Regions from separate parts of the Homo sapiens genome. Here region 1 is linked to region 2. Evidence: promoter capture Hi-C in 16 types of primary human blood cells and fetal thymus (Javierre and others, 2016). All regions are on one chromosome and are shown on one strand. The core of a region is centred on a gene start or on the middle of the fragment in contact, and the rest is flanking DNA. Distances in the headings are between cores, read along the strand shown.

Region 1 (4,634 bases), core at 901-3,400, 510 kb after region 2:
TCAGGCTCCCTGGGGGCGATTCGGAGGGAAGGGGCGTCCAGGGCTATTTGGGGAACTGCTTTTCCCTCCCTGCAAACACCACAGATGTCAGTGTGCAGAGGAAAGGCCCGAGGATTTATTGTGGCCTCTCCGTCCGGGGACCCAGCTCCAGGCTCCTCCTTTATAGAAAGCAAACATCTGTATTCCTCACATTGCAAAAGTCTTTGCCACAGTGACGCTTCTGATCACTGAAACTTCTTGGAAGAAAAGTTTAAGAGTTTAATTAAAAATTAAATATATTGTATTAGGTATATTTTTTAAAAGGGCAAAGTAAAAAATATTAATACAATCTGGTTGTAGAAAATACACTGCAAGAAAAGGAGCAGGTGCTTCAAAAATGTAACCCTGGCAACTCTGCCAACAGGTCCTGGGCTCGGGCTTCCTGGAAAAGCCCCGGGACACGTGGGAACTCCAGGCACCCTCGCAGGGGCCCCCCGAGGGCAGGTGGCCCAGAAGCCCAGGAAGGGTGGCCTGGGAGGTGGAACGGGCGCAAGGCCGAGCATCACTGGCTCCTAGGGGGCTGTGACATGGAACCAAACATACACGCGTATGAGAGAGCAGAGCGGCAGCGACGCGGTCGGATCGGTCGCGGGGGCTGCGGGAGGAAGCGCTGCAGGGACCCGGGCGGCGCCGGCGGCCTAGCCGGAGATGCACGCGCTGTAATAGACCGCGCTGCTGGCGTCCGACAGCGCGGAGATCAGGCTGCTCTCCTCTGGGCAGGACATGGCGCGCGGGCCCAGTTTGGCCAGTGCCACGTGGTACGGGAGCCCGGGGGCGTCGGGCCGAGTCCGGCTGCAGTTGAGGTACTGGTCGAACTCGGTGAGGTCCACGTCGGCCCACAGATCGGCGGCGGGCCCCAGCGGCTCGGCGCTCTCCAGCGGCGGGGCCTCGGGCGGCGGCGACAGCGGGCCGGGGTACGGGCCGGGCGTGCCCAGGGTGCCGTAGTACAGGCCAGCGAGCGGCGCCGCGGGGGGCGCGGTCCTGAGCGCCTCCGCCAGGGGAGCCCCGTAGCAACCGCCGGGGTCCCGCGACAACTCGGTGGGCGCGTAGGGCGCGCGGAAGGGCCGCAGCGCGCAGTCCTCGGGCGCCGCGGGCGGTGGGAAGAAGGCAGCCTCGCCGGGCTCCAGGCCGTCCAGAGGCGAGCGCTCGGGCGTGGGCAGCCCCAGGCCGTCGAACTCGGCGCCCAGCGGGGGCAGCTCGCGGAAGGCGCGAGCCGAGCCAGACGCCGCGGGGAAAGGCTCGGGCGGTGGCTGCGGGGGCGCTAATCCCGGGAGCAGGAGGCCGGGCTCCAGCCGCCGGGCCTTGCGCGCCTGCTTCTTGCGGCGCGGCCGGTACTTGTAGTTGGGGTGGTCGCGCAAGTGCTGCACGCGCAGCCGTTCGGCTTCCTCCACGAAGGGCCGCTTCTCCGCCGCGTTCAGCTCCTTCCACGCTTTGCCTGCGGGCCGTGGGCGCCAGTGAGTGGAACGCCGTCGGGCGGGTGGGCGCCGAGCCCTCCGTGCGCCCGGGACGCCCCGCGAGGGTTTGGCGCAGCCCCCGCACCCCGCGGCCCGGGACCCCTGCCCCCCCCGCCCCACCCCGGCCCGAGCCCCCCCCGCCCTCTCCCCCTTCTCTGCCGCCCTCCCGCCGCTCACCCAGCATCTTGCTGAGCACCGCGTTGTGCAGGTCCGGGTTCTGCTGAGCCAGCCGCTTGCGCTCGTCCTTTGCCCACACCATGAAGGCGTTCATGGGCCGCCGGATGCGCGACTCGTCTGCCGCCTGGCGTTCCCCGCGGCCGGCCGGGCTGAGGCCATAGCGCCCCGGCTCGGGGCTGCGCGGGGGACTGCGCTGCGGGCTGGGCGGCGAGGCGGGCGCGGCGGGCGCGGCGAGGGCGGCGGGGCCGGCGGCGAGGCCGCGCGTGTCAGCGGCGGCCCCGTGTCCCGGGGCCCATGCACAGTCGCGGCGGGCGGGCGGGTCGTCCTGTGCGCCGTAGCCGGGCGGCGATCTCTGCATTCCAGCTGGGCGCGGCCTGGGCGGAACGGAGCGCGGGAGCGCGGCGGGCGGGCGGCGGGCACTGGGGAGCCGGGCGCAAGGGCAGGCCAGGCCGGGAGGGCGGATGGCGGTGGGGACGGCGGTGGCCTCGGGCCGGGCGGGCGCCCAGATATAGCGGCTCAGGGCCAATCGGCGGCGGGGCGGGCGGGCGGGGGCGGGTCGGGGCCGCCTCCTCCCCGGGGGCTCCCTTTCTTCTCAGGCCGGGCGGGATTCCGCTGAGGCCTCCCCCGCGCACAGCCCCCCCACCTCCCCCGCGACCTCTCAGAAGGAGAGACCCCCCGGGTGGGAAAGAAAGGGCTGCTGATGAGGGCCGGTGCTGCCAGACTTTCGGAGGCGAGCTGCCACCCACCCACGGAGTCGGACCCCCGGGCAGTAACTGGGGGAGGGCGGCAGTGTCCCGCTGGTTGCCGTTCCCCGCCCCCCGCTGGGAGGCTCCATGGGGAGGAGAGGGCCCTTTTTCACACCAAGTTCTGGGGAGGCTGCCTTCCCAACAGCCGGTAAGTCCTTCCTGGAGTGCAGCGCCTTCAGAAAAGGCCCCGTCTTTGGGGAGGCGCTCTGAGTCCCCAGGGGCGCCCATGCTGGAAACTCTACACCCATGTGTAACCGTCAGCACCAGGGACTTTGAGTGCCTTTATGGGACAAGATGGTCTTCTGTCCTCACTCCCAAACCAACTCTGGCACAAGGCAAAGCTGACACAGGGAGGGAGAGAGCAGAGGCCCTGGACGGAGCCCACAAAGAGAAGGGGGAGCAGGGACGCAGAGGCTGTGGCGTCCTCCCTGCCCCCCAAGGGCCCTTGGGGAAGGGGCTGGGACCCTCAGTGGCTTGCTGGCTCCCCTGCCCAGCCCAGGCCACCGCTGCAGCAAGAGGCAGGGCCTACCTGGGTCCTTCCCACTGGCCCCTCCCTGGACCCTCTGACCTGGGCGGGGGCGGGTTCCGGAGGAGCGTCCAGCTTCCTGAATTTTCACTGTCCCCTTCCTACTCCATCAGGAGGGGATCTGGGCTCCAGAGCTGAGGGTCTCCCTCTGGAGGTCCTCCCCTCCCACTGCCACGCATGGTTCTACTGGAGAAGGGTTGGGTGTCCCCAGCAGCCCTCCAGGCAGGGTCAGAATCTCGCCACCTCGCGGCACATCTCCTCATAGCCTGGAGGCTCCCCAGCTCCCCCCGCCACACTATGCCGGGAGCCCCATGGGTAGAGGCCACAGGTCTTGTGACCCTGAGCCTGTGTGGCCAGAAGCTCTTGGTTCTCTGTCCCTGCCAGCCTCGCTAGGCCACATCCAGCCTGTGTTATGAATGGGGTGGGCCCCACGTGGGCCTTGCAGTGCCCCTTAGAGGCTGTTCCTGAACTGTCCCCAGGGGCACTCCTGCCCTGAGGCCAGCACCCCCACAGGGGCACTCCCACCGAGGGCTGTCGCGGTCGGTGTCCAGCCCTCCCCAAAGCCCCACATCACAGTCTGTCTCGACGCCCATCGTCCCAGCATACGGGGCTGGGTCTCCCAGTCTGGTCTCCAGATCTCCCGTCCCTCCAGTTTGCCCCACGGGCCTAGCACCTCGTTCACAGACACTGAGCCAGTGCTGGCTAATGGGGGGCCCGTGGGGCACCAGGAGGTGCGGCCCCTGGCTTTTCTGGGGAGGCAGGCAGGGTTGTGGCCACAGGGATGGAGGGGCTCACAGGCCTCTGCCGGATGCTGCTAGTCCTCCTTTAATCTCAGTATGGGTGGCTGGACCCTTGGCCGAGTCTCAGTGTGGGTGGGCCTCCTGGGCAGCTGGCAGGAGGGTGCAGGGGGGGTGGGGAGCCGTGCGAAGACCCCAAAGGGCTACCACTTGGCGGAAGCTCTCTCTACTCACAACCTTAGGGTTGCAGTCAGGGGTCACCAGGGCCTGGCTCAGCCTGGGCAGTGGCTGGTCACTGCGGCCTGGGAAAGAGGTCCTCGGGGTCCTCTGCAGTAGCCCTCACACGTGGGGAAGGATTTGCAGTTCCCTGGGGGCCCTGCTTGGTCCTCTGCCACCCCCGAGAGCCCAGAGTCACTGGAGCTGCTCTAAACATAGTGGCAGGCAGTGTCCGGCATGACCTCATCGCCTCCACGTCCCCCACAACACCCACCAGCAGCCGCCTTGCCTGGCGCCAGCCAGTGACCCACCCTCTTGGCTGGGCTGTGGACTCAGGTGTCCGGCTGTCATGTCCTGTGAGTCGGGGCTGGGCGGGGAGCCTCCTGAGGTGCTCCTCTCCCTCTGCGTGGCAGGGAGGAGGCTGGCAGCCCTGGCCCAGTGTCCAGATGGGACAAAGTGGGGGTAGGGACCACAGCCAGGGTGGCGTGATCTGGAGCCGCAGGGCTGGGGGGACTTGCCAGGGCTGTAGAGGGGATGGTGTGGGTGTGGCCAGCTGTGCTGAGGGAGGGGCATCCGATGTGTGTCTGTGCATCTGTGTGTGGCCTGTGTCTGTCTGTCTGCCTGGGTGTGGGGTGAGGGGGACTCTAGTGCTGGAGGCTGCCCAGGGCCTTGAGAGCCAGGCAAGCTGGACGTTCCCAGGAAGAGATGAGGACCCATAATAGGTCCAGGACCAGGGGTC
Region 2 (4,608 bases), core at 724-3,223:
CGCTCACACACACACAGTCACAAACCCCCACACATGCGCACAGTTCACCCGCACACCTGAACACACACGCGCATGTGTGCTCACTTGCCCACACGCTCACACGCACGCACACACAGCCACTCGCGCGCACTAACTCCCGGCTGCGGGGTGTGGGCCAGCCCTGGACTGTGGACTTCCAGGTGGAGCTTGCAGAAGCTCCAGGTGACCTGCGCCCTTTGTGTGTCTGACTCCCTCAGGTCACTGGAACACAAACCCCACACAGAAGACCACGGCCCAGCATGGAGCCCCTGGGGTCCACCCCCTCCACTTCCGCACACCTGGAAGCACTGCCCCACCTGCCCCTCCAACCACCTGGCCTCCCGCCCCCCCCCTCACCTGGCCTCCCGCCCCCTCCTCACCTGGCCTCCCGCCCCCTCCTCACCTGGCCTCCCGCCCCCCCCCTCACCTGGCCTCCCGCCCCCTCCTCACCTGGCCTCCCGCCCCCTCCTCACCTGGCCTCCCGCCCCCCCCTCACCTGGCCTCCCACCCCGTCCTCACCTGGCCTCCCGCACCCCCCTCACCTGGCCTCCCGCCCCCCCCTCACCTGGCCTCCCGCCCCCTCCTCACCTGGCCTCCCGCCCCCTCCTCTCCTGGCCTCCCGCCCCCTCCTCTCCTGGCCTCCCGTCCCCTCCTCTCCTGGTCTCCCGCCCCCCCCACCTGGCCTCCCGCCCCCCCTCACCTGGCCTCCAGCCCCCCCCACCTAGCCTCCCGCTCCCCCCCCCACCTGGCCTCCCACCCCCTCCTCACCTGGCCTCCTCCCCACTTCTCACCTGGGCGAGTTCTCAGGACTCAGGGTCTTTGCACCTGGGAGCTGACCAGCCTCCGGCCAGACCCCACCCCTGCACCCCTGCTCACTAACGAGGTCGTGGGTCTGCGCGTGACCCTGCTAACGAGGTCGTGGGTCTGCACGTAATAGAGGGGTCTCCACCATGGGCCCCTGCCCGACGGCCTCTTTACAGCCTCCCCTGCTTGTTGCTTGGGTCCCCCGGGAGCTAACCCTACACAGCCTGTGACTCACGCACACACACAGTGGGTGCCCAATCACTGATGAGAAACGCGGGATCTCAGGAGCGTGACCCTCCTCAGCCTGAGCTCCGGGCAGCTGTGGAAGCCAGGGCCAGGCCACACCAGCTGCTGTCTGGTTCCCCGCAGGGCACAGCAGGCAGGAAGTTTGCCCGGCAGCCGGCCCGCTCCCCTAACTAGGTCGTGTGTCTGGTTCCGGCACTTTGGAAACTGGGCAAGCTTCAAGCTTCGTTTCCCCCAAAGGCCCTGGAACGCTCCGACAGACCTTGTCACTGGCCACCGGGCCCCAGAAGTCCACCCTGGACCCTCTGTCCTCCCTGGGTCCCGGCAATGCAGCGTCCACCCCCGAGCTGTGACAAGGATGAGCCCAAGGCAGGGGCCGTGCCCTCTGACCCCCGTGCTCCAACTCCCGCAGGGACAGTCCTGGGCACTCCTGGGCGCCAGCGCATGGGGCCTGCAGGGAGGATCAAGCGGGATGCCCAGCCTGGACTTTGGGGTGCAGGAAGATGGAACCGGGGTCCCCACCTTCTTGGGCCTCCCTGAGCAGCCCAGAGCCCTGTCCCTCCCCTGTGCCTAGAGGGTGGCCTGTGCCAAAGCTCCCAGCAGCCTAGGACACGCACGGTTCCGACTCCACCGTCTCCCTCTCGGCCAGGTAGTTGTGGGGCACATAGCCCTGGGCCACGGCCCCACCCGCCTCGTCCAGCAGCGTGGCCCACCACCACTGCTCCTCCTTCCTGGCCACGTGGAAGACGTCCCCCGCGCGGAAGCTCAGCTCCTCGTCCGTCCGGGACTTGAAGTCCCAGAGGCCCACATACTTGGGGCCCAGGTGAGCCTGGTCCCGGGACACCATGGCGGGCGGGCGCAGCGGCAGGACCAGGCTGTGGCCCAGCTGGAGCACCCAGAGCTGGGCGTGGCAGGCGGGCCGTCCCACTTCCTCATGACAGGCCGGGAAGCAGCCACACCCAGCACCCACAGGCGCTCCAGAGCACCCCGGCTCCTCCTGAGGGCCCAGCCGGCCCCACAAGTCCTCAGGCCCACTGGGGCCCATCTGAGCACTTAGCGCCCGCACTATGGGAACCCACTGGGCAAGCACCGCCAGGGCCGGCCTGAGCGCAGGAGAGGGGGAGGAGGACCTCCCGGTTGGGGCTTCTTGGGGGTCCAACTTATGGACACTCAGGCACTCAGGGAAGCCAACGGCCCTCTGGGAACAAGCCTCGCAGCCTGAGGGCAGGAAGGTGAGGGCTGCAGGCGCTGCCTTCCCAACCCTCAGAGCTGCGGGGGCACAGGTGGGGGCCGCCTCTCTCCCCGCTTCCGGCAGCTTCCCCTCCACCCGTCGGTGCCCTCACCCAGCCCCAGACTCCACCCCTGAGCACAGGGCCCAATGTCAGGAGCTGCTGTGGGCAGGCGTCCTGAGAGCGGCCTCATGGGCAGGCCCGCCCTCGGGTAAGGGCCAAGCAGGGAAGAGGGAGTGGAATCAGGGCAGCGACAGCTGTGTGGGTCGGCCCGGAGGACTTCCCGGAAGAGGAGGGCCCGAGGGTTTTGGGGGATCCCCGGGGAGGCAGAGCCAGGGGCACCCACGGCTGAAGAAACGGGCACTGCCTTCCTCCACACGGACGCCAGGGGGCAGGCAAGGACCGTGAGTGCGGCCTGGAAGCGCCCATGGCGCTGGGGCCCAAGGCCACAGGTCCCTCCCAGGCAGCCCCTCCCGCCTCCAGCCTCTGCCTCCTCCTGTCCAGCCCGCAGGACCCCTGCCCCCTTCCAGCTGGCCTCCCTTCTCCCGACTCATGCCTGAGTGAGCCCTGCCGTGACCCCCACCTGCACCCGACGGCCGCCTGCCCCCCAGCCCCTGAGACTCGGGACACCCCCTCCCTGGAGGCCCCTCCCCGCCCCACCCTCCCACTGACCCTACTGTGTCCACCCGGGAGCTCCAACCCAGGGACCTGGACTGGCAGCCACAAGGGGGCAGGAAGGGGCGGGAAGGGAAATTCAAAGTCTGCAAGGGGTGGTAAGGAAAGTCCCTAAACTGCGTATTTCAACTTTTATTTTTATTGCAAAGAGAAATAATGGCACCTTCCACTCATTGTTTTGAGATTAAGAACAATAATCTGGATTATTTAACAGGCTCATAGATTTCTGGGCAGCCCAGCTCAGCGCTGACCAAGGTGGGGAGGGGCAGCGGGGTGCCGGCCTGGGCAGTGTCCCTCAGGCCCTCCCAGCTCTGTCTGGGGTCGGTTGGGGAGGATGCAGGGGGAGGGGTGGGGGGTGGGGAATGCGGAAGGAGGGTGCCGGGGCACCTGGCCGGGCAGCGTCCCTCAGAGCCCGGCCAGACTCTGGGCCCGTGAGTCTATGTCCAGGAAGCCTCGAGTATCCCTGAGTTCGGACGTGCAGGACTTTCAGTCTAAGCCACACCAGGAGGCAGGAACGTCCCCAGCCCCTCCCAGATACCCAGGAGCACCAAACCTGTTCAGCTGGTGGCTGGCGAGATGCCTAGGAGGGCACAGGTGCCACAGACACACCTGGTCCCCTTAATCCCAGTGGCGGCTGCAGAGAGCACAGAGGGCGAGGCCTTCTGTGCCAGAGGAGCCCCCAGGCTGCTGTGCTGGGGACCTGCCAGAACTGGAAGCTCAGCTCAAGGCCTCAGTGGGCCCAGGTACCAGAACCAGCCCCTCCCCTAGGTTCTCCCATGCAGATGGAGCTGGGCAGGTGGCCAGGGTCCCAAAGGCTCAGATAAAGCCTCTTGCCTCCACCATCTGCAGGGGTCCTGGTTCCTGCTGCTTCCCTCCGCTTGGCCTTGTTCCTCCGATGCACGGGCCCCAGGAAGCCCCCGCGCTGCCTCCGTTCTCGGAGCCTCCGAGTGGCCTCTTCCTTCCCCGGGGCCACCTGTCTCTGCACACGGGAGTCTCATCTCTTAGCTCCCTCCTGAGCCAGGCTTTGGCCGGGGCCTGTGGACGGCAGCCATCAGCACTTCGGCTCAGCAGGTACAGAGCTGACCCCAACTCTAGGGGACAAGGACTCAGTCAGGCCTGAACTTGTCTCCAAACTTTCTGTCCCCGAAAGCCTTCTGGGCACAGCTGCCAACCTGGGCTCCCAGGAGGGTGGGGGGCAGGGTCTCCGGGGGCCACAAACAGACCCCACCGGCCCCCTTGCTTCTTGACGTGTTTCACGAAGACCTGAGCAGAAGCTTCCCTGAGCCAGACGTGGGGAGACGAGGGCGGACCCTGCACATCCCTGCCCCCTCCTGCCTTGGTGACCCCCGAGGACTCACACCCAGAGGCTTCCTGAGCCACTTGCTGCCCAGCATACCATGGCATCTACCTCCGAGCCCCCAACCGACCCTGCCTGACCCTGCACAGGCAGAAGACTCCAAATCCCCCACGGCCCACCCTGAGGCCCCTGGAAATAGCCTCCAAGGGCAGCTCCCAGGTCACCAAGCCTCCCGGCCCACCCTTCCTGTGCCACCTGGAACCCACCCAGGGAGATGGAATCGGCAGCTCCTGCCAATGCCCTTGGGGCTCACGCTCTCTGGGCACCATGATGTCCTGGGCT

The links. The method cuts DNA at HindIII sites, captures the fragments that hold promoters and counts their contacts. A CHiCAGO score of 5 or more calls a contact.
Region 1: a contact is called between the fragment with the promoter of SOX18 here and the fragment with the promoter of PTK6 in region 2, in 11 of 17 cell types (endothelial precursors, erythroblasts, fetal thymus and 8 more). The highest score is 9.8, in endothelial precursors.

What each region holds. Positions count from the first base shown.
Region 1 is chr20:64,047,489-64,052,122 of GRCh38, forward strand. It overlaps SOX18 (SRY-box transcription factor 18), which reads right to left and starts at 2,151. Exons shown (of 2, transcript NM_018419.3): 1 at 1,671-2,151; 2 at 94-1,474. The coding sequence starts at 2,028. The coding sequence ends at 678. RefSeq lists a silencer at 1,841-1,890, an enhancer at 2,022-2,703 and promoters at 2,028-3,136, 2,031-2,928, 2,031-2,291. The HindIII fragment of the contact is 12,409 bases long and covers 1-4,634 here.
Region 2 is chr20:63,535,403-63,540,010 of GRCh38, forward strand. It overlaps PTK6 (protein tyrosine kinase 6), which reads right to left and starts at 1,974. Exons shown (of 8, transcript NM_005975.4): 1 at 1,683-1,974. The coding sequence starts at 1,912. SRMS (src-related kinase lacking C-terminal regulatory tyrosine and N-terminal myristylation sites) reads right to left here. Exons shown (of 8, transcript NM_080823.4): 8 at 3,087-4,608. RefSeq lists enhancers at 2,073-2,162, 4,581-4,608 and silencers at 2,283-2,432, 2,763-3,032. The HindIII fragment of the contact is 2,955 bases long and covers 1,287-4,241 here.